7 separate regions of the Homo sapiens genome follow, and regions 2, 3, 4, 5, 6 and 7 are each linked to region 1. Evidence: promoter capture Hi-C in 16 types of primary human blood cells and fetal thymus (Javierre and others, 2016). All regions are on one chromosome and are shown on one strand. Each heading gives the region's core, a stretch centred on a gene start or on the middle of the fragment in contact. The rest is flanking DNA. Distances are from core to core; before and after follow the strand shown. Region 1 holds the start of INPP5F (inositol polyphosphate-5-phosphatase F). Region 2 overlaps CACUL1 (CDK2 associated cullin domain 1). Region 3 overlaps EIF3A (eukaryotic translation initiation factor 3 subunit A). Region 4 has its middle 3.8 kb from the start of GRK5. Region 5 has its middle 3.0 kb from the start of DENND10. Region 6 overlaps SFXN4 (sideroflexin 4). Region 7 overlaps LINC03036 (long intergenic non-protein coding RNA 3036).

The links. The method cuts DNA at HindIII sites, captures the fragments that hold promoters and counts their contacts. A CHiCAGO score of 5 or more calls a contact.
Region 2: a fragment that was not itself captured here is called in contact with the fragment with the promoter of INPP5F in region 1 in 1 of 17 cell types (neutrophils); the score reaches 11.6 in neutrophils.
Region 3: a contact is called between a fragment that was not itself captured here and the fragment with the promoter of INPP5F in region 1, in 2 of 17 cell types (total CD4 T cells and non-activated CD4 T cells). The highest score is 7.0, in total CD4 T cells.
Region 4: a contact is called between a fragment that was not itself captured here and the fragment with the promoter of INPP5F in region 1, in 2 of 17 cell types (fetal thymus and total CD8 T cells). The highest score is 5.8, in fetal thymus.
Region 5: a contact is called between a fragment that was not itself captured here and the fragment with the promoter of INPP5F in region 1, in 5 of 17 cell types (fetal thymus, non-activated CD4 T cells, activated CD4 T cells and 2 more). The highest score is 13.1, in fetal thymus.
Region 6: a fragment that was not itself captured here is called in contact with the fragment with the promoter of INPP5F in region 1 in 1 of 17 cell types (fetal thymus); the score reaches 6.1 in fetal thymus.
Region 7: a contact is called between a fragment that was not itself captured here and the fragment with the promoter of INPP5F in region 1, in 1 of 17 cell types (total CD8 T cells). The highest score is 7.0, in total CD8 T cells.

Annotation. Positions count from the first base shown.
Region 1 is chr10:119,724,722-119,727,909 of GRCh38, forward strand. INPP5F (inositol polyphosphate-5-phosphatase F) reads left to right here and starts at 1,329. Exons shown (of 20, transcript NM_014937.4): 1 at 1,329-1,638. The coding sequence starts at 1,542. RefSeq lists an enhancer at 328-377 and a silencer at 988-1,757. The HindIII fragment of the contact is 3,399 bases long and covers 1-3,188 here.
Region 2 is chr10:118,724,994-118,728,248 of GRCh38, forward strand. The region is part of intron 3 of CACUL1 (CDK2 associated cullin domain 1); the gene reads right to left. Among named protein-coding and RNA genes, the nearest start is that of CACUL1, 28 kb to the right of the region's middle. The HindIII fragment of the contact is 5,468 bases long and covers 1-3,255 here.
Region 3 is chr10:119,041,047-119,044,246 of GRCh38, forward strand. It overlaps EIF3A (eukaryotic translation initiation factor 3 subunit A), which reads right to left. Exons shown (of 22, transcript NM_003750.4): 18 at 3,008-3,096; 19 at 948-1,726. Among named protein-coding and RNA genes, the nearest start is that of NANOS1, 13 kb to the left of the region's middle. The HindIII fragment of the contact is 5,604 bases long and covers 1-3,200 here.
Region 4 is chr10:119,201,937-119,205,609 of GRCh38, forward strand. No RefSeq gene overlaps it. Among named protein-coding and RNA genes, the nearest start is that of GRK5, 3.8 kb to the right of the region's middle. The HindIII fragment of the contact is 1,703 bases long and covers 1,313-3,015 here.
Region 5 is chr10:119,099,293-119,102,842 of GRCh38, forward strand. No RefSeq gene overlaps it. Among named protein-coding and RNA genes, the nearest start is that of DENND10, 3.0 kb to the right of the region's middle. The HindIII fragment of the contact is 268 bases long and covers 1,532-1,799 here.
Region 6 is chr10:119,159,961-119,162,860 of GRCh38, forward strand. SFXN4 (sideroflexin 4) reads right to left here. Exons shown (of 14, transcript NM_213649.2): 3 at 2,380-2,454; 4 at 1,095-1,121; 5 at 955-1,009. Among named protein-coding and RNA genes, the nearest start is that of SFXN4, 4.3 kb to the right of the region's middle. The HindIII fragment of the contact is 382 bases long and covers 1,110-1,491 here.
Region 7 is chr10:119,021,476-119,024,885 of GRCh38, forward strand. The region is part of intron 2 of LINC03036 (long intergenic non-protein coding RNA 3036); the gene reads right to left. Among named protein-coding and RNA genes, the nearest start is that of LINC03036, 6.4 kb to the right of the region's middle. RefSeq lists enhancers at 832-1,474, 1,475-2,117, 3,303-3,410. The HindIII fragment of the contact is 1,721 bases long and covers 1,107-2,827 here.

The DNA.
Region 1 (3,188 bases), core at 79-2,578:
GTGGGCTGGAATAACTAGTCATGTGGAACTCCTTCCTGCTTTTGTACCCTCTCACTTTTACTTGAGCAGAAGGTTAAAAGTATTGCTTTCTGAGAAGTCCCATTCGGTCACTCCTCTCTCTCGCAAGAGAGACAGCTGTTCTCCCTTTTCTTTTGCCTATAAACTTCCGCTCCTAAACTAAAAAAAAAAAAAAAAAAAGTATTGCCTTATTTTTCTCATCTCCTACTTCTTGTCTTTTTCTCTTGTTTCCGATTCAGGCATTAGAGAAGGCAAGGAGTTAGGAGTAGGAAGACTCAATGATTTATAGAACTGGGGGTGTCATAAAAGGTCATTAGTTCAACCACCATCTGAGACCAAGAGACTTCCCCAAGATCACACAGCTAGATAGTCCTCGAACTGGCCCCGGAAGTGGGGGCCTCATTCTCCAGACCCATTCTGTTCAGGATATCAACTGGTTTTTCAAGACAGACTGAGCTCAAGGATGTTTGGGGGAGACTCCTCCTTCCCCGAGAGGGTCTCCATTCATCTTATCCTCGCCAAACGATATTCCTTCCGCTTGCTTCATTAACTGGCTCCATTTGTGAAGTCTTCTCCAAACCGCCCTGCTTAATTCGGGACACAGCAGCACCTGTACATTCCTCCCTTCCTCCTCGCTCTTTAGCCGCGTGCTGCTAATGCTTGTGTGTTTTCTATTGTTACATGCTTTCCCTCGTTGATGTGCATTTATTGAATGCCTCCTGTTGTCAAACTTCTAATAGGGAATACGAAAACAGAAGACGCCTCCGCTTGGCTGTGGGCCTGGCTGGGGATGAACCCCTGTAGCCAGGCCCCGGGGTCTCGCCTGGTTTCGGTACGGGCAGGCAGCGCAGGCCCGCGGGGAACGTACCCCGCACCGCTCCGGGAGAGCGGGTGTGGGGTTGGATTCAGGTCTCGGCCTGGCGAAGCGTGAGCGCCTCCCTGCACGGAGGGGAGGCCCCAGCGGTGGGCGCCTGTCCCCAAGGCCGCGCGGAGGGAGGCGGTCAGTCCAGACCGACTCGGCCGAGCTCCCGAGCTGCCACCGGTGACCACGACAGGAAGGCTGGCGCGCCGGGGGAGGGGCCTGGGCAAGAGCGGGAGGGGCGGGCGGAAGGACGAGAGGGAGGAGGAAAGACCCGCGGGGAGGAGCTGGGAGGAGACACCCGGGAGAAGGCGGAGGAAAGGGCAGGAAGCGGGAGGGAGCTGAAAGGAGGAGGAGGCTGAGGGGCGGAGCCGGGCGCTCGGGGAGAGTAGCCAGCAGAGGGGGTGGAGCCGGGCCTGGGGCGGAGCCAGGGAAGGGGAGGAGCGGGGGGGAGAGGCCTCTACGGCCGCCGCTGCCGCCGCCGCTGCCGGGGCGCGTTCTCCTCCTACCGGTCGGGTGCCCCGGGGCGTTCCCTCTGCCGCTGCTTCTCGGCGCGGTTCCTACCCGGCCGCTCCCCGAGGCGCGGGCTCTGGCGGCCTCGACCGACTAGGACGCCCCGTGCGCCGCCCGCGGGCCGCCGCCTCCCTGGGCGCGCGGGGCCAGCATGGAGCTCTTCCAAGCCAAGGACCACTACATCCTGCAGCAGGGCGAGCGCGCGCTGTGGTGCAGCCGCCGCGACGGCGGCCTCCAGCTCCGACCCGGTGAGGCTGGCGGTGCGGGCGGGGGGCACCCCGGGCCAGGGCGGGGAGAGGAGGGGGCGCGGCCGGACCCCTCAGCCGGGCGGGAGGAGCCGCCTGCGGGCCTGGTGAGGCGGGGCGGGGCGGGCTGCGAGCGCGCGAGCTGTCATTATTCCCTGACTGGAAGGAGCCTGGCCTTTCTCCGAGACAGCGCCGAGCCCCTACCCCAGTGCGGAGCAGAAGGGGCTGGCGACCCTCGTCCTTCCCACCGCGTCACGCGGCCGCCCTTGGGGCTTGGGGCCCAGGCCGAGGGGAGGGGGTCCCCTCCGGCAGAAAGTTCCAGCAAGGTGCACCTGGCCGTAAAGGCCTCTTCCTCCTTGGAGTAGTTCTTACATGGCCTTCGCCAGAAGTTCTGGGTTCGAATTCCGATCTGGAGCGGTTGCGCCAGTTCCGTCTAGGGCTCTGCTGGACACTCACTCCCTGTTGCCATCCCGTGTGTTCTTGGTCCCTTATTATTAAAGGTGTGACTTTACTGTGGTTACCTCATAGGCACTCGGTTTAAAGCCTTTGTCTTTGACTTTAATACCACAGCACAATTAAATTGTATTGTAATGTATAATTTTGAGATTTTTGTGTGACTTGATGTTGTGCGACACAAAATGTATTGTGGGTCCATGTTTGGGTGTCATGTAAGCTGTTCGGAGAGGCTTAAGTCTGCAATTAGCTTGCTTTAGGAAAATGTGTGTGCAGTCGTGGTTTAAACAGAGCAGTCCCTGCCCTCAGAGCGCTGACAGTCCAGTTTCTTGTAAGATGGGGCTGGGTGGCACCTGCCCCTTTTGGCTTGCTAATCCTTTCCTCATATCACTCAGAGATTCTTCCACTTTAGGGAAAGCGAGAGGATAGAGTTCTTTAAGGAAGGAGCCAGAGCTTTTCAGACTTACTTGTAATTCTTATGTGCAGTCTAGACAGAAGGATTACATGATATGAATTGAAAAGGATAAAAGGTTCAGATGAGCTTTTCAGATCACAGCGTGGTATCACTTATAGGATGGTTTTTAAGGACAGGCCCTTTAACATATTATTTCCAATCCCCACAGCAACCTTACAGGACACGTGTGGGATCCTCTTTTTCAGGTGAGGAGAAAGGAGTGAGAGGTTATTAGTAACTCGTTCGGGGTCACAGCCTAGAGTTGAGACACTGACACAGGGCAGTTCTGTGACCTCCAGAACACTTTTGGGCAGGCCCCACTGCTTTCTTAGGAAGGCCTACTAGTTGCTTTGCCAGAGCAGTGAAGGATAACTTATTTTTTTCCTCAGGCTCTGTCTATATTTTCTTGCTATTACGTTGTATTTCCTCTTTTCAGAATGGAGGATAAACTCCTTGGCCCAGATAAAGTTCTTGATGATCTCGGGATAGAGTTATTATGGATAGGCTAATTTTGGCCAGTCTTCTGTCATTCTCTTCTCTGATTTGACCATTTGTCTGGCTTTCTCCCCTTCCCTCCTTTCACTCCCCCAAATTTGGGTAAGGCTTCAGTACAGCTTGAAGTAAAGCAGATTTCAAAATTCCTAGG
Region 2 (3,255 bases), core at 233-2,732, 1.0 Mb before region 1:
TTTCCATAGAATTTTCCAAAACTATTCAGAATATTATTTACTGAATTGGTAAACCAATTTACTCTCTATAGTCATCTATTTCCATTCACTGGTATAGGAAAATACCAGAATTGGAAATGTACATTTTGAGGCTCTGGAGATACAGAAAAATAAAAATAAATAGAACTTCGTTATTACTTTTAAAGAAAGAACAGCCGGGAGTGGTGTCCCATGTCTGTAATACCAGCACTTTGGGAGGCCAAGGCAGGAAGATCACTTGAGTCCAGAAGTTCAACACCAGCCTGGGCAACATGGTAAAACCCCACCTCTACAAGAAATACAAAAATTAGCTAGGCATGGTGGTGCACACCTGTAGTCCCAGCTACTTGGGGTGCTGAGGCCGGAGGATCATTTGAGCCCAGGAGGTCAAGGCTGCAGTGAGCCAGCATCACACCACTGCACTCTAGTCTAGGTAACAGACTGAGACACTGTCTCATAAATAAATAAGAAGAGCGGAGTTAATAAGGACGAGAAAAGAGCCTGGTTTAAAAAAATTAAGGCAAAAGATACTGTTCACAATTTTGAACAATCCAGCAGTAAGTTAAAATGTATAGATACACATGCAGTGAAATATAATAGTAAGGAGAACACTAAGGGGACTTAGCTATTTGTTTTATTAGTTTAACAACACAACAAAAAAAACTTTAAAGTGCCTGAAGTAAAGTAATTTTTTCCAAAATGAAAGAAATGTGTTTAAAAACAAAAAAGAGGCAGCAAGTTAGATTATGCTGTCATGTAAAAAATATTTACATTCAACAAATTATTCTAAAATCTCTAAAAACCATGTTCTCTAGTTTTTACGTCAACACCAAAAATAACTGGAGAATATGGGAACATTATTTTATATACTCTTCAATCTCCCCAACAGGATATGCCTTGGGATAAAAATAAATAAGTCCCTCTGACATATAAACTATACAAACCCACAGCTATTTTAAGATGCCCTTGACTGAGGCTGACGCCCTGTAGGTCCAAATCATTGATTTATCAACTCCAGCACTAAATTTCTGATTATCTGCCAAATGCAACTCCTCCCACGCTCTTATTTTGGCTCATAACAACAATATTTCATTATGAAAACCAGAGCTGCAAACAAAATGCTCCATCCAAATAAAATGTTTCTGGCTCATAAAGCCTGGCACCGTCTCTTGATCTGTCCCCATGAAAACTGCCTTAAGGTCTCTATAAAATAAAGATTACATCAGGCCACACACATCACACTGAACAAATAAATAAAATGCTTACAAATCTAGAGAGCACAGGAGTAGTGGTCATCTGAAGCTAATTATGCTACTCTTTCCATTAGTACAGGTCACATTTAGTTACTCAGCATTCAGCCAGAACACATCTGCTGAGTTGTAATTGTGGCAGACACTAAGGATAAAAAGACAAACACGATAGAGTCCCTCCCCCTCAAGGAAGGGCCTGTGAAGTAGTCAGACAGGGAAGCAGAAACAATAACACAATCACTGCCCTAATAGACTTCTTATTGCTGAGATGCTATGGATCCACAGAAGAAATGCCAATAGTCTGTTCGGTTTTGAGAGGAGTGCAGGAGTTCCAGGAAGGCTTTACACAGATGGACACAAATGAGCTTAAGCCTAAGAAAAGAATGAAGAAGCATTTGCCAGGCAGGAAGCAGAAGAAAAAATACCTTACACCTTAGTGTAAAGAACTACAGATATTTTAGTAAATCTACTTCCTTTTGATGTCGAGAAAATACCTTACACCTTAGTGTGAAGCAACGAGATAGTCTAGTAAATCTACTTCATTTTAATGTCAAGAAAATTTATAAGATGATATATATTAGCACGTTTAATAAAGAGGCAAACACACAAATGCTGAGTGACAGAGCTGGAAACAGAGCCCTGGATCCCCATGTTTTAAACCACTCCCCGCTGCTATTTAATAATGGTTACAATCGTTATAATCTTATAAAAGGAATCATTTTGAAGCTAGACTTTTCATAAGACCATATTGCTGAACTCTAAGTGGGACATGTATTGATTCTAAAAACAAACTAAATTCCCTGGTTTTATATCATATATCACCCTTTTAAAAAATACTAACATCACGCTGGGCACAGTGGTTCACACCTGTAATCCTAGTACTTTGGGAGGCCGAGGCTGGCAGATCGCTTGAGTCCAGGAGTTTGAGACCAGCATGAGCAACACGGCAAAACCCCATCTCTAAAGCAAAAAACATAAAAAATTTGCCAGGCATGGTGGCATGCACCTGTAGTGCCAGCAACTGGGGAGGCTGGGGTGGGAGGATCGCCTGAGCCCAGGGAGGTCAAAGCTGCAGTAAGCCATGATTGTACCACTGCACTCCAGCCTGGGAGACAGAGCGAGACCCCCATCTCAAAAAAATTAAAAAAAAAAAAAACACTAACATCAGAAGAAATATCACTCTGATTTATGTTTTAATCATTAATAAGAATCATTACTATATTAATATAAAACTAAAAATTATTTGGTTTCATAATAGGCTGTATTAGTAGGGTGAGGGAAAACAGACACTGTGATATATACAGAACTGATGGGAATGCAACTTGATACAACTTCTGTGAACCACAATTTAGACTTAGTAAACGACATTACTTACAAGACTGACTATTCACTTCAGCACTGTTAGTAATGGCCAAAGACTGGAAGTAACCTAAATATTCATCAATCAAAAACTGGTTAAATTAAGGTGTATCAATGAAGTAAGGCAGTTGAGATAAGCATTTCAGTAAAACAGTCGAGAAATGATGATGAACCTGACTAGGGTACTGGCAAATGAACAGAAGTGTGTGACAGAGTCCACAGCGAGACCCGAAGTCCATAAACTGGATTCAGGTAGAAATTCAGGTAGATGGTGGAGTGAAGAATTAGAAAGCAAATCACTCAAAAGCTATAAAGCATAGATCTAGGGTTTCATCAACAATTTATACACAATGCCTAAGCACTAAACATATGTGTTAAATGAATAAAGATTTTATAGTTAGCGGCAAAAAGATGAAGAAAGAAATTTATACTAACAACAAGAAAAGTATATATCTGACTATGACAAAACACAGCTCTATCATTTGAAACAGAAAACAAAATGCTACTTAGTGCAACAACTGTTTGGGGAAAAAAAACACAAAAAAACTAAGCTATCTCAGACCACAAGTTGTGAAGAACAATATCCAAGCCCAAAGCACACCCCAGCATGTGCTATAAACTGTGGTTA
Region 3 (3,200 bases), core at 409-2,908, 680 kb before region 1:
ATGTGCCTGTAGTCCCAGCTACTTGGGAAGCTGAGGCAGGAGAATTGCTTGAACCTGGGAGGCAGAGGTTGCAGTGAGCTGAGATCATACCACTGCACTCCAGCCTGGGAGACAGAGCAAGACTCCACCTCAAAAAGAAAAAAAATGGTAATAGACGCATGTCACAAACATGTATACAACTGCTCACGAATAATAAAGTGTGAAACAATAAGCAGGCCCAGGACTAAGAAAAAAAATGAGGCTGGGCGCAGCGCCTCACACCCGTTATCCCAGCACTTCACTTTGGGAGGGAGAGGCAGAAGGATAACTTGGGCCCAGGAGTTTGAGACCAGCCTGGGCAACATAGCGAAACCCCGTCTCTCCAAAAAATAAAATATTAGCAGGGTGTGGTGGCATGCGCCTGTAGTCCTAGCTACTCAGAAGGCTGAAGTGGGAGGCTCCCTAGGGTCCGGGAGGTCAAGGTTGCAGTGAGCCATGACTGCACCACTGCATTCCAGCCTGTGCAACAGAGCAAGACCCTGTCTCAAAAAAAGTAAAGTAAAATGAGTTCCTCCTTGCATAATCTCTCAGTTGGCAAAAATAAATATATAAAGTACATTTTGGTTTCAATTATTTATTTTTAAAAGGAGGCTGGTTCCCAGTAAAACCTGAAAAATACACCAATACTGAAAGCATGAGTACAGGAAGAGCCTTCAAAGAAGCAGTCATCGAAGCAGAAGGAAAACAAAGAGCACATCACTAAAGAAGAGAGGGGTTGGGTTATTTATGTTTTGGATGGTGGTATTCTGAAGGCAAACTTTTGACAGCGAAGTCACTGCAAATGATACTGAAGGAAAGATGAAAGACCAGTTTATCTGGAAAATAACAATACAGCCCTGATATTTATCCATCAGAATTTCACTTTTACAGGTGAACACTTAAGCATATTCTAGGAAATAGAATTTTACCTGGCTTGACTAATGGTCTCCAAGGACCAGGTCTTGAGTCATCACCCCGTCTGGGAAACCGATCATCATCAGCACGTCTTGAAAGGCGATCATCATCCATGTTTCTCCAAGGGCCCCTGTCATCCTCTGCACCACGCCTGGGAATTCTGTCATCATCGGCGTTCCTCCAAGGTCCTCGATCATCATCCAACCCTCGCCTGGGACCCCGGTCATCATCCATGCCTCGCCTGGGACCCCGGTCATCATCCATGCCTCGCCTGGGACCCCGGTCATCATCCATGCCTCGCCTGGGACCCCGATCATCATCCAACCCTCGCCTGGGACCCCGGTCATCATCAGCATTACGCCAGGATGATCGCTCATCATCAGCGCCTCCTCGCCTCGGCCCCCGGTCATCATCCATCCCACGTCTTGGTCCTCTGTCCTCATCAGCTGTTCGCCAGCTTCCTCTGTCCTCATCCAGTCCTCGTCTAGGTGGTCTGTCATCATCCGCATGACGCCAGTTTCCCCTGTCTTCATCGGCAATTCGTCTGGGAGGCCTGTCATCATCTGTGTTACGCCAGGAAGGCCGGTCATCGTCTGCCCCACGACGAGAGAACCTATCTTCCTCAGGACCACGTCTAGGGCCTCTGTCATCATCCATGCCACGCCGGGGAACCCGATCATCGTCTGGTCTAAGAGAGGGCTCTCTATCTTCATCATCCCCCAGACGCCGGGGCCGCTCTTCATCTCTTCTATGAGACCTGTCCTCATCTCGCCCTTCTCCACGTCTCCACTCCCTACACAGCAACAAGAACAATTAAAAATATATAAAATAAAAAAGCATATGATCCTTTGGGGATTTTTTTTTTCACATGCTTTTTAAAAACTTCAGTATGGGCCGGAGCAGTGGCTCGCACCTTTAATCCCAGCACTCTGGGAAGCAGAGGCAGGCAGATCACCTGAGGTCAGGAGTTCAAGACCAGCCTGGCCTGGCAAAACCCATCTCTACTTAATTGTAAGACATGCGGCTGGGCACAGTCGCTCACACCTGTAATCCCAGCACTTTGGAAGGCCAAGGCGGGAGGATTGCTTGAGCCCAGGAGTTTGAGACTAGCCTGGGCAACATGTCAAAACCCCATCACTATAAAGAATATAAAAATTCACCAGGCGTAGTGGCCCACACCTGTAATCCCAGCACTTTGGGAGGCCGAGGCAGGCAGATTTCTTGAGGTCAGGAGTTCAAGACCAGCCTGGCCAACATAGTGAAACCTCGGGTCTACTAAAAATGCAAAAATTAGCCAGGCGTGGTGGTGCATGTCTGTAATCCTACTTGGGAGGATTACAAGTGCCTCCCAGCTACTTGGGAGGCACAAGAATTGCTTCAACCCAGGAGGCGGAGGCTGCAGTGAGCCGAGAACGCGCCACTGCACTCCAGCCTGGGTGACAGAGCTAGATTCTGTCTCAAAAACAAAGAAACAAACAAACAAAATTAACCAGGCATGGTGGAGCGCACCTGTGGTCCCAGCTACTCAGGAGGCTGAGGCAGGAGGATCACCTAAGCCCAGGGAGGTTGAGGCTGTAGTGAGCCGAGATCGCGCCACTGCACTCCAGAGTGAGACGCCATCTCAAAACAACAACAACAACAACAAAAACAACAACACAGGCCAAGTGCAGTGGCTCATGCCTGTCATCCCAGCAATTTGAGAGGCTGAGACAGTCAGATCGCTTGAGGTCAAGAGGTCAAAGCCAGCTTGGGCAACATGGCAAAACCCCATCTCTACTAAAAATACAAAAAGTAGCCAGGTGTGGTGGCACACACCTGTAATCCCAGCTATTCGAGAGGCTGAGGCACTTGAACCCAGGAGGCAGAGGTTGCAGGGAGCCGAGATAGCGCCACTGCACCCCAGCCTGGGCAGCAGACCCAAAAAAACAAAATACAAACCCACACGCAATCAGACATGCACACAATTCTTCATGGCTCTCCTTTCCCTGCCTCTACAAAATGAACCAAATTTTAAAACCACTGATAAGATATTAACAGGAACTGGAGCGGCATTATTTTCCTCAACTCTACTTACTTCTCTGGCGGGCCTCTTCTCCACTCAGAATCTGCTTCAGGTCCTTTTCTCCAGGTGCCTTCTGAATCTCTATCTCCCCAACGAGAGTCCTCCATTGACAAAGTGAAAAAGAAGCATTACATTGGTAACCATTTACTATTACAACTACTGGTATTACCATTCAAATATTTTTTGTACTTATAACAATATGAAG
Region 4 (3,673 bases), core at 914-3,413, 520 kb before region 1:
CTTCTTTTCTGAACTTGCAGTTGAGAATTGATGCAAGACAAATGATCCCACAAAATCTTGTGACCAAGCTAGGTGGTTAGATGTGTATAGGTAATAATCACCTGGCAAAACCAATCGATTCATTAAGATTGGCCAGTTCATCTGGAAACCAAAGGCTGCAAAGACACCACGTGTTGCTTGGAGATTGGTTTTCTCAAGCATGACACTTCTACTACTCCTCACATTTCACAAATATTATTGGTTAGGATGAATTAAAGTTTTCAAAGTGAGCTGACTTTAAAGAAAAATATTGGCCGGGCATGGTGGCTCACACCTGTAATCCCAGCATTTTGGGAGGCCGAGGTGGGTGGATCACTTGAGGTCAGGAGTTCAAGACCAGCCTGGTCAACATAGTGAAACCCCACCTCTACTAAAAATACAAAAATTAGCCAGGTGTGGTGGTGCGCACCTGTAATCCCAGCTACTCGGGAGGCTGAGGCAGGAGAATCGCTTGAACCCAGGAGGCAAAGTTTGCAGTGAGCCGAGATCATGCCACTGCACTGTAGCCTGGGCAACGGAGCGAGACTCCATCTCAAAAAAAAAAAAAAAAAAGAAAAATATGAAGTCACTAGAAGAGCAATAGGCAGTTTACAACATGTTAAAACTTTTTCTTTTTTTTTTTGAAACAGAGTCTCGCTCTGTCGCCCAGGCTGGAGCACAGCGGCACCATCTCGGCTCACTGCAACTTCTGCCTCACGGGTTCAAGTGATTCTCGTGCCTCAGCCTTCTGAGTAGCTGGGACTACAGGCGCACGCTGCCATACCTGGTTAGTTTTTGTATTTTTAGAAGAGACGGGTCTCACCATGTTGGCCAGGCTGTTCTCGACCTCCTGACCTCAGGTAATCTGCCCACCTTGGCCTCCCAAAGTGCTGGGATTACAGACGTGAACCACTGTGCCCTGCCCATAGTAAAACTTTTAATGTCCAATTGATAACCACTGAGGTCCATTGATGAAGGGAATTCAGAGGGGAGGAAATGTTAACTGGAAACCTCAAGCCTCCAGATTTGCTTTCAGCTCACATTTCTCCTCTTTTGGTGCCTGAAATCACTTCTTCCCGTTTGCAAAGTCCTTTGTGTGTGTCTCCACAATGGCCCTTATTCCATTGTATGGAGGTTGTTTGCATCCGGTGTGTTTTCCTTCCCAGTGGCGAGCTCCCTGGGAAATTGCCTTGAACTCCCTGCAGGGCTGGACACAGAAAGGTAAACTCTGAAGGAGAAGAGGATAAATGAGAGAATGGAAGCTCTATCTGCAGCTGCTTCCTGAGGATTAAAAAGCTTTGAGTCAAGGAAAGGAATGGAAACTCCAGTTCCTGGACTATTCAGAAAGCCAATTTGATTATTCAGGCAAAAGGAATCTATATTTTAGAAGGCCGATAGGTTTGTGGCTTTCCAGCATAGTAGACTTCTATTTACAAGAACTCTGACCCAGCAGCTTTATTCATGGCAGATACAGGTGCTGAGAGAAGAATTTGAAGGTTCCCTGTTTCTTTTGCTTTTTTATTTTTTAGAGACAGTCTTACTCTGTTACCCAAGCTGGAGTGCAGTGGGGCGATCATAGCTCAGTGCCACCATACCTGGCTAATTTTTAGGTTTATTTCGTAGAGACAGGGTCTCGCTATGTTGCCTAGGTTGGTCTCGAACTCCTGGGCTCAAGCGATCTCCACCCCCCCATCCCCTGCACCCTTGCTTTAGCCTCTAAAAGTGCTGGGATTGTAGGCATGAGCCACTGCATCTGACTTCTTTTGCATTTTTGGCTCAGCTGCTCCTGAGTGGAGTCTGAAGCTGGCTGTCTTTGACATATTCCCATCCCTCCATCCTCACCCCCACTCCTCCATTTGGATTTCCCTTCTTGCTCTCAGCTGGCTGTCAATGATTCCCTACTTAGCTATTTATATTTAATAGCCTACTCTTCCTTGAATCAAACCCATTTTTCAAGAAGACCACGAGTTGTTAGTGCAGTTAATTGAAAGGAATAAAGCCATAATGGTGGAATTATAGATGAAAATGGAAAACCCCTTGAAATCTTAATGATTTAGTCAACTGGGTGCTTTGCCTTCTTATAATACAAGTTCATCCCGGCAGCCACACAGAACAGTTACTACCAAGCTGTGCTGGCTAGCTTGCGCAAGCCAGAAATTAAGTGCACCAACTCTGAGTCAGGCTGACAGGTTCAAATCCCGGGTCTTCTACTTATTACTTATGTGACCCTGGACAAATTATAAAACCTTTCTTTTTTTTTGAGGAAAAAAAAAAAGTCTCACTCTGTTGCCCAGGCTGGAGTGCAATGGCATGATCTTGGCTCACTGCAACCTCTGGCTCCCGGGTTCAAGTCATTCTCCTACCTCAGCCTCCCGAGTAGCTGGGATTACAAGGCACCTGCCACTACACCCAGCTAATTTTTGTATTTTTAGTAGAGACGGGGTTTTACCATGTTAGGCTGGTCTCGAACTCCTGACCTCAGGTGATCTGCCTGCCTTGGCCTCCCAAAGTGTTGGGATTACAGGCGTGAGCCACCGTGCCCGGCCTATAAAACCTTTCTTAACCTGGTGCTTTATCTATAAAATAGGCCTGTGTTCCCTACCTCATCTGGATATTGTGTTCAAGGAGATAATCCATTTAAAAGACCACAAGAGCCTGGCCCACAGTTGGTGTTGAGTAAATGCTAGCCATTATTGTTCCATTCTTGCATTGGAGTGTCTGAATTTCCTCATAGAGGCACAAAAACCTGATGTACAACCATGTATTTGTGTAGGCAGGATGCAACAGCTTGTAGTGGACAAAAAAATAGTCTAACACTAACTTGCTGAGTGACCATGCCAACTCACTTACTTTGGGTCTGTTTCACATCTGTAAAATGAGAGGGAGAGGCAGGGGTTCCCAGGATGGAAAACTTAAATGTCTATACAGGCCAGATAAATAAAATCACTAGTGACTTGGGCTGGGTATAAGACAATAGGGAGTTACGGTAAACTAGAAAGCTTTTCAACTCTGAGTGTGGTCTACTGACCACGAGGATCGACAGAGCCCTGGAGTTTGTTAGAAAGAGCAACATCTCAGAAACCACCCCAGATCTATCCAAATGCAATCTGCATTTTAACAAGATCCCCCGTGATTTGTATGCTCATGAAACTTTGAGCCAGGCATGGTGGCTTATGCCTGTAATTCCAGCACTTTGGGAGGCAGAGGCGGGTTGGATCACTTGAGTCCAGGAGTTCAAGACCAGCCTGGCCATTATGGCGAAACCCCGTCTCTACTCAAAATACAAAAATTAGCCAGTCATGGTGGCACACACCTGTAATCCCAGCTACTTGGGAGGCTGAAGTACAAGAATCATTTGAACCTGGGAGGCCGAGGTTGCAGTGAGCCGAGATTGGGCCACTGCACTCCAGCCTGGGTGACAGAGTAACTGTCTCAAAACAAAACAAAACAAAAAAACAAACAAAAACAACCTTTGAGAAAATTGTTTTTTTTTTTTTTTTTTTTTTTTGGTTCGGAGTCTCGCTCTGTCGCCCAGGCTGGAGTGCAGTGGCGCGATCTCGGCTCATTGCAACCTCCGTCTCCCGGGTTCACGCCATTCTCCTGCCTCAGCCTCCTGAATAGCTGGGACTACAGGAGCCCAACACCACGCCCGGCT
Region 5 (3,550 bases), core at 416-2,915, 630 kb before region 1:
AAATTGCTGGGCATGGTGGCACAAACCTATGGTCCCAGCTACTCGGGAGGCTGAGGTGGGAGAATTGCTTGAGCCTGGAAGGTCAAGTCTGCAGCAAGCTGTGATTGAACGACTGCACCCCAGCTTGGGTGACAGAGCAAGACCCTGTCTCAATAGATAAATGAATAAATAAATAGAAAGAAAGAAAGAAAAAAGAATAATGCAACACAGCTCGAAACCTGGGCTTCTTAGGGCCGGAGAGCTACCCAGCATCCTGAAACCATTGAGAACACAAGGAGGATGACTTCATCTTGGGAATGTTCTGGAAGCCTCACATATGCTAGAAGTCAGGACGGAGTGTCAGAGCAGTTGACTGAATCGCCTTCCAGTTCCCAAGTGAGACTGAATCCCTTAAATTAAAAGAGCTTGGCCAGGCGTGGTGGATCACACCTGTAATCCCAGCACTTTGGGAGGCCAAGGCGGATGGATCACTTGAGGCCAAGAGTTTCAGACTAGCCTGGCCAACATGGTGAAACCCCATCTCTACTAAAAATAAAAAAAAATTAACCAGGCTTGGTGGCACACACCTGTAGTCCCAGCTACTTGGGAGGCTGAGGCAGGAGAATTGCTTGAGCCTGGGAGGCGGAGGTTGCAGTTAGTGGAGATCACACCACTGCACTCCAGCCTGGGTGACAGAGCAAGACTCCGTCTCAGAAAAAAAAAAAGGCTGGGCACAGTAGCTCACACCTGTAATCCCAGCACTTTGGGAGGCTGAGGTGGGTGGATCACCTGAGGTCAGGAGTTCGAGACCAGTCTGACCAATATGGTGAAACCCTGTCTCTACTAAAAATACAAAAATTAGCCGGGTGTGGTGGCCTGCGCCTGTAGTCCCAGCTACTCAGGAGGCTGAGACAGGAGAATTGCTTGAACCCAGGAGGCGGAAGTTGCAGTGAGCTGAGATTGCATCACTGCATTGCGACAGAGCAAGACTCCATCAAAACAAACAAACAAACAAAACAACAACAACAAAAAAAAACTGCCACCCTAATGGCTCCCTTGGCTGACACATGCCCAATCTATGATGGAATCCAATTACAGAAACAAAGATGAAAAAGAACCATATTTGACTCATAGGAACCTGGGATTGGAACACCTGGAAGATGCTGGGGTCCCTTGTGCACTTGTCCATGTGGCCAGACAGTTTAGGCACTTTCCAAATCTGCTTCAGTGCCAGTAACTTACTCTTTTTCTGCAGAGCAAGGAGTGAGCAGGCTGTGCAAAAAAGAATTCACACGACAGGCCTGAGGGTGATATCCATAGAAAGTCTGCTGGCCAGTTTGGCCCTTGGCTGTGCCTGGAAACTTGGACTTCGGCAGTGTTCCCAGCATTTCTAGAACTGATCAAACTGATCAGAGTGACAGACTATGCCTGAACTATTTGTACATACAATGTGGTTCATGAGAGTCTGGAAATCTGGTATGAGCTAGGCAGAGGGTACCTATGTGACTGGCCCCCAGTAAAAACTGAGTTACTTGGTGACTGAGTTCTAACAAGCTTCCCTGGTTGATAAATATCACAAGTATTGCCACAACTTGTTGCTGGAGGAATTAGGTGTGTCCTGTGTGACTCTACCAGGAAATAACTCTTGGGAACTTGGCCCTGGTTTCCTCCAGACATCACCCCATGTGCCTTTTCCCTTTGCTGATTTTGCTTTGTATTCTCTGGCTGTAATAAATCATAGCCCTGAGCTGGGGATGGTGGTTCACATGTGTAACCCCAGCACTTTGGAGCCTGAGGTGGGCAGATCGCTTGAGGTCAGAAGCTTGAGATCAGCCTACACAATATGGTGAGATCACATCTCAAAAAAAAAAAAAAAAAAATAGCTAGGCATGGTGGTGCCTGCCTGTAGTCCCAGCTACTCAGGAGGATGAGGTGGGAGGATAGCTTGAGCCTGGATCAAAGCTGCAGTGAGCCGTGATCGTGCCACTGCACTCCAGCCTGGGTGACAGAGTGAGACCCTGTCTCAAAAAAATAAAAATGTATATCATAGCCATGAGTATAGCTATATGCTGAATCCTGAGAATCCTTCCAACAAATCATTGAATTTGGGGGGTGGTCTTGGGGACCCTTTATATTCTTACCTATAAAATTAGGCTATTCTTATCAATAAAACTAGCATAAAGATTTTCCCTGATTCAAATCTTTATTGGGAGAGTCACGGAGGAAAGTATGGTTAGCTCCATTTGATCACTGAGAAAACATGCACAGAAAAGATAGGAAACATGTGTGAGGTTTCGCAGCTAAGATGGGCAAGGGGGTTGGAACTCAGGTTGTCTGTTTCCACACCCCAGCTCCATCTGTCTGTGACAGCGCAGAGGTCAGTCTTACTTTTAAAGATTGGGGATGCGTCGCCTCTGCTCTCTCCACCCTCTATTCCTTTTCCCTTCACTCTGGTGTACCTGTCTGGCAGGTAAGACAGCACTTGTGGAGAAACAGGAGGGAAGGAGGTGTCAATTCCAGGTATCATCCCACTCACTGGAGCCTGGACACACCCCTCATTATCTTTCCCCTCCCTGCACCCACTATCATCTCCCTCTCCTTTGTTTAATTATCTGTTCATCATCGTCTTCATCCTCATTTCTTTTCTTTTTTTTTCTGAGATGGAGTCTCACTCTGTCGCCCAGGCTGGAATGCAGTGGCGCGATCTTGGCTCACTGCAACCGTCCTCTCTTGGGTTCAAGCCAGTCTGCCTCAGCTTCCTGAGTAGCTGGGATTACAGGCACCTGCCACCATGCCTAGCTAATTTTTGTGATTTTTTGTTTGTTTGTTTTTGAGATGGAGTCTCGCTCTGTCGCCCAGGCTGGAGTGCAGTGGCGTGATCTCGGCTCACTGCAAGCTCCGCCTCCCGGGTTCACGCCATTCTCCTGCCTCAGCCTCACAAGTAGCTGGGACTACAGGCACCTGCCACCACGCCCGGCTAATTTTTTGTATTTTTAGTAGAGACAGGGTTTCACCGTTTTAGCCGGGTTGGTCTCAATCTCCTGACCTCGTGATCCACCCACCTCAGCCTCCCAAAGTGCTAGGATTACAGGCGTGAGCCACCGTGCCCCACCTAGTGCAAGTTTCTAGTTGGCTTCCAAACTGATTCCACATCTGTGTCCCACTCCTCAGCCTCTAAACACCTGCTTCTTTTCTGTGAAAACTAGACACATTAACAGTTATACTACAACAGGAAGCCCAGAGAATAGAAGGGCACGTAGTTCAGGGTGCTGCCTTCCAGGGGTTCAGTTTAGTGAGAGAAACAGGAATGCCATATACACACCTAAATATACTCCAATGTATAAATTGCAGCCTGGGCAACATAGCGAGAAACTGTCTCCAAAAAAAAAAGAAAGAAAAAAGAAAAAAACAGGCGCAGTGGCTCACGCCTGTAATCCCAGCTACGCAGGAGGCTGAGGCAGGAGAATCCCTTAAAACCGAGAGGCGGAGGTTGCAGTGAGCCGAGATCGCGCTATTGCACTCCAGGCCGGGCAACTGAACAAGACTCCATCTCAAAAAAAAAAAAAAAAAA
Region 6 (2,900 bases), core at 51-2,550, 560 kb before region 1:
GAGGCCAGGAGTTCGAGACCAGCCTCTATTTTGTAGAGGTAGCGAGACCCCCACCTCCATAAAAAATTTAAAGCCAGGTGTGGCGGCATGACCCTGTAGTCCCAGCTACTCAGGAGGCTGAGGTAGAAGGATCAGCTGAGCCTGGGAGTTGGAGGCTGCTTTGAGCTATTATGGTGCTACTGTACTCCAGCCTGGGTAACAGAGCGAGACCCTGTCTCTAAAAATGACAATAATAATAAAGTATGTACATAAAATTACTATAACATGGCCAGGCACAGTGGCTCACGCCTGTAATTCCAGCACTTTGGGAGGCCAAGTGGGCGGATCAGAAGGTCAGGAGTTCGAGACCAGCCTGGCCAACATAGTGAAACCCTGTCTCTACTAAAAATACACAAAGGAAAAAAATTAGCTGGGCATGGTGGCAGGCACCTGTAATCCCAGCTACTCAGGAGGCTGAGGCAGGAGAAATCACTTGAACCTGGGAGGCGGAGGTTGTAGTGAGCCGAGATTGTGCCACTGAACTCCAGCCTAGGTGACAGAGCAAGACACTGTTTCAAAAAAAAAAAAAAAGAAAGAAATCCTGCTGGGGGAGAAATAATTAAAGCAAGGCAGGCAGAGTTTTCTTTTCTTTTTTTTTTTTTTTTTGGACACGGAGTTTCACTCTTGTTGCCCAGGCTGGAGCGCAATGGCATGATCTCAGCTCACTGCAACCTCCGGCTCCCGGGTTCAAGTTCAAGCAATTCTCCTGCCTCAGCCTCCTGAGTAACTGGGACTACAGGCACGTGCCACCACAATGCCCAACTAATTTTTTACATTTTTAGTAGAGACGGGGTTTCACCATGTTGGCCAGGCTGGTCTCGAACTCCTGACCCCAGGTGATCCGGCAGGCAGAGTTTTCTAAGTGTTAGAAACTACATCTTCCCAACCCACTTCTGAAAATTAGAACCAACTCACCTGCAGGTCGAAAAAGCTTGGGGATCAGGTTGCTGCTGTCGGGATGCACTGTTGCCTTCAAAAGGAGAGATGCAAGGTTAGCTGGATGTCTGGTTTTGTTATTATAGGACACTAAAAATTAGGAAGGGGCTGAAACTTACAAGACTCCGCTTCCAAGCTTCTTGTATCTTAAAGGAGAAAAAAGAATAGCTTTGTTTCATTTTAAATTTTTTTTAAGAGACAAGGTCTTGCTCTGTCACCCAGGGCTGGGGTATAGTGGCACAATCATCACTCACTGCAGAACAGCCTCGAACTACTGGGTTCAAACGATCCTCCCACCTCACCCTCCTGAATAGCTGAAACTACAGGCTCACGCCACCATTCCCAACTAGTTGTTTAATTTTTAGTAGAGATGGGGTCTTGCTATACGGCCCAGGCTGGTCTTGCAGTCTTGGCATCAAGTCATCCTCCCAAACCATTGGAATTACAGGGTTAAGCCATCACACCCAGCCTTAAAAAAACAACAACAACAACAAAAAAAAACAAAAAAAAAAAAAAAGCTTTTAAAGGTGGCTCAACAGCAAAGAATTTCTTTGCCTGTCTCATTTCTGGGACCACATTTGTTCTACCTTTCAGAGAGTGAAGGCCAGAGCTGTTATTTACCACATTGACAGAACAAATCAAAATAAATGGATCATATGAATAAACAAATGAACTAATGACAAGCAAAGAGACGAGCCACACAGAGAAATGGACCAGAACATTAAAAAGTCCTGTCTCTACCCTTGGAGAATACCAACACCTAACTTATCCCTCAGATGAGTCCCCGAATCCGGCTTGCCTCTGGCTCAGAGCAGAGCAGGCTGTGTGCTGATGACACACCATGCCATCAGTCAAGTTACTTGCAACAGAGCCAAGCTGTCAGCCCAGGGTCCCCAGCACATTCTTAGAAAAAGTTAAATATGTGAGCTCTCCATAGGCTGTCTTGAGGAGCTGGTGTTTGTGAGCTCCAGAAAGCCCCACATACTGCAAGGTAGATAAGGAACAGTCCGTTTGAGCCTATCGGCAGGAACGCTGCCTGCAGTGGAGAATGAATTCTGACGTCAGAGCCCTGTCTGAATTCTGGGGTTTGCCACTGGGCTCCAGGAATCAGCTGCAGGGAATCCCCACAAATATCCACTGTGTAGGAGGAAACTTGCTGTCTGGTTTATGGGACAGAATTCTAACTACATTTAAAAAACTAACCCAGTTTTGCAAAGCTGGTCCTCTGGGCAGTATATAACAATGACAGCATTAATAGCCAATAGAACAGTGGCTCCCAAGGGAAGGAAAAAAGAAAGAAAAGAGACGGAGACAGAGATTAATGGCCAAATTCCACCTGACTTCAGACCATGCAGGCAGAACCATCTGAGGGCAACCAGCCAGACCTGAGCACGTGAAACATACCCTTTGGTCCGCCGAGGCAGGGCTGGAAACATCTTCATTTGTGCACAATAGTTGCCTCGAGTTTTCTATACTTTCCTAAAATCAGATATCAAGTAATCAAGTAATGATCTCAACATTGTTCAGGTTTATCCCCAGAGGTAGGAATCACCAGCTCACTCACCAGCATGCACTGGACTTCGACTGCATGCCTGATTTCAAGCCACATGGTGCCCTAGGCTCTCTATCCATTAGGATAGCCCTGAGTGCCATTCAGATTTATGCCTTCCTCTTCCTAGATGCTCCAGCAGCTGCCCCCAATGGTGCTGTCACCTCCCCCACTCTCTGATGTCAACTGTCGCACTGAATGGTTACCACCATCCCCTGGCTATACATGTCAGAAACCTAGAAGTCCTTCTCCCTCACCCACTTCCATGTCTTATCAGTTCAGTCTTATTTCCTCTCTTTTTCTTTCTTTCTTTTCTTATTGTTTTTTAAGAGACAGGGTCTCACTCTGTTGCCCAGGCTGGAGTGCAGTGGTGTGA
Region 7 (3,410 bases), core at 717-3,216, 700 kb before region 1:
AAGGTAAGGAAACAGGTTCCCCGCCAAGAGCCTCCAGAGGGAATTCAGCCCAGTGAGACCCACTGTGGACTTCTGACATCTAGAGCGCTGAGAAAATCAGTGTGTTGTTTTCAGCCACTATATGGGTGGTAATTTGTTACAACCGCAACAGGAAGCGAACCTGCCCCCACCAAGTGTCATCGCCTGTTTACTTGTCTGTCTGCCCAATTCGAGTGTAAGCTCCATGAGGTCAGAAGTACGTCAGTCTTATTTGCCACTTATCCCCAGACCTTGATGGTAAATAAATGAATTTTAGAGATGGAAAGGGCCAAGAAATCACTTAGGCCAGCCCAATTATTTTAAACTGAAATTTAAAACTAAGATCCAGAGACAGGAACTGATTTTGCTCGAGGCTACTCAATTTATACAGAGCTTGGATCCTCCATCCGCTCCCTGGGGCCCACCTGCCTTCTGGTCACTAAGCCGTAGAAGCCTGAAGACAGACACAACTGTGGAGAGGCAGCTCCGAGCACACAAAATCCCTGGAGAACTCAGGACGGCTGGGAGAGGATCAGTGCAAATCAGATAAGACCAGAAGAAGATGGCTAAAATGACTTGAGCAATCTTTAAAATGTTAGTCCCGGCCCAGCGAGGTGGCTCACGCCTGTAATCCCAGCACTTTGGGAGGGTGAGGCGGGCGGACTGCTTGAGCCCAGGAGTTCTAGACCAACCTGAGCAACATGGCAAAACCCCATCTCTACTAAAAATATGAAAATTAGCCAGGCGTGGTGGTGCATGCCTGTAGTCCCAGCTACTCAGGAGGCTGAGACAGAAGAATCGCTTGAACCCAGGAGGCAGAGGTTGCAGTGAGCCAAGCTCGTGCCACTGCATTCCAGCCTGGGCGACAGAGCAAGACTGTCTCAAAAATAAAGTTAAATGTTAGTCCCAAGGGGCAGCTGATCCACCAGTAACAACCAGGGCAGAACTGTGCCCAGCACCTGATCAGCTGAATTCAGGAGACTCTCCACCTGAAGCTTCAGAATGGGGAAACAAGAAAAGGGGTACTAATGTCAAACTTGAGGCCCGCCTTCAAGAAGCTCAGCATTTCACACCTCGGCCAGAGCCAAAGCTTTGGGCTTTGAGCAAATTAGGAAAAGACACTTCTTCCACAAGGTATCTTTTTCCATCTGTCAGTGAAGTGTCATAATATACTGATTTCGTTAGAAGATACTTTACTCAAGGTCGGCCAGAAAATGATCACAGAGTTACTATGTCTATGAAGTAAAGGTGCCCCCTTAGATGGGAAGCGGTTGTGCAGTACACAACCTGCAGAACTGTACACAACCTGCAGAACCACACATAGCATTCTTTGCTTGGCAGTCTGGTCCCATCCTTTCCACAGCCCTCATATCCCCGCTTCCCCTCCCTCTGCCTAGAGCCCTCAGACCTGTTGGAGAACAGTCTCAATCTACAGGTTACCATTTTACATGTAACTCCTTCCTGTCAGCTTTTTACTTCCCTCCCCCTGCAGACAGCAGGGATTGACGACGGGTGAGAGAAGGCTGATGGCCCCATTTAGGGAAGCACAGGAGGAGGTGGGGAGGCCGGATGTAGTGAATTCCAAATGAATGAGTATCCACGGGCCAGGGGATGATCAAGGAGGTGTGAGGGTTAACAGTGCGGGCCTTGAAGAAATGCCACCTACCAGCTAGCTGTGAGCTGCTGGGCATGCTTTTAGCCTCCCAAAACCTCATTTTCCCTTTTGTGAAATGCTTATCATTGTAGGCCTGCTGGGAGGATTTCAGAAATGATATGAGTGAATGCTTAGTGCACGGTAAGGGCTCAGCACCTGTGAGCTACTGTTATTGCTATTATCAGCATCATCAGCCCAGGGACATCTGCCCTTCCGCCTGTCAGCCTCCAGGCAGCTCCTGCTTTAAACAAAATTGGGACACTCCAGATTTCTAAAAGAAAACCACATGGCAGGGAGGAGGGCAAGTGCTGGAGGGAGAAAGGATTACTCACTTTACCAAAGTACCCACTACTGGATAAACAGAAACACCCAGACTGCTTTTAAATGGGGTTGGTTTTGTTCAGGGGACATTGCTGACACGGACTGGAATGTGTCCTCTCCTGCCCCTGCCGCTGTGTGTTGCTGGCCAGTCTCCCGCACATCTGGACCCCAGAAGTCCCAAGAATGACCGGGTGCATCCAAGGAGGCACAAACCCAGGTTCGGGGAGTGAGAGAAAAATGGGTGCAAATCTCAGTCCTGCTGCTCCTGAGCTTCTCAGCCTTGGGCTCCATGCTGAGCTTTGCCCCCGTCTCCAACAGGTCACCAGCGCACCTGCCTTGCGGGGCAGGGTTGGGGGTGGGGGGCACATGGAATAGTGCATGTCAAGCACCTGGTGCTGATGGTGGTGGTATTATTACCAGCTGGGAGACTTTAGCCCAAGGCAGGGGGTGTGAGATGACACCACGGCACCCGTTTCCCATTCTCCGCATCCCCTTCCAGCCTTGTCCACACACAGAGAATTCTGACATGGTCGTCACCTCCACCTGGCCAGAATATGGTAGCCTACCTTTTCGACAGAATAACCAAATGTATTTTTTTTCACAGTATTACATGTTTCATTTAGAACAAGGGTGTCCAATGTTTTGGCTTCCCTGGACCGCAATGGAAGAACTGTCTTGGACCACACATAAAACACACTAATGACAGCTGAAGGGCTTAATTAAAAAAGGTCTGTGCATAATCTCATAATGTTTTAAGAAAGTTTACAAATTTGTATTGGGCCGCATTCAAAGCTGTCCTGGGCCACATGAGGCCACCTGGCCACAGGTTGGACAAGCTTGATTAAGAATGAAGTCAACTGCACGTATAAAAGGATACCTGGACGTGGTGTGGTGGCTCACGTCTGTAATCCCAGCACTTTGGGAGGCCAAGGCAGGTGGATCACCTGAGGTCAGGAGTTCAAGACCAGCCTGGCTAACATGGTGAAACCCTGTCTCTACTAAAAATACAAAAATTAGCTGGGCATCGTGGTGCATGCCTGTAATCCCAGCCACTCGGGAGGCTGGGGCACCAGAATCGCTTGAACCTGGGAGGTGGAGGTTGCAGTGAGCCGAGATCATGCCACTGCACTCCAGCCTGGGTGACAGAGTGAGACACTGTTTCAAATAAATAAATAAATAAAAGGATACCTGACTTGAAGTGGCTGAAATAATAGAGATGTTATAATTATCTCGTGTAACAAGTCACCAAGTCATCAACAAAAATATCACTAAGGTTTGTTTTTTGTTTTAACTTTTCTGGTAAGCCATCACCTTGCGCCAGCTTTGTGTCCTTAAGCCTTATCACCTCAGCTCTATAGCCTGAGCTGAAGAAGGTGAGGGCCCTGGTTCTTTATTTCTTCCCCCTTTTTATATAAGG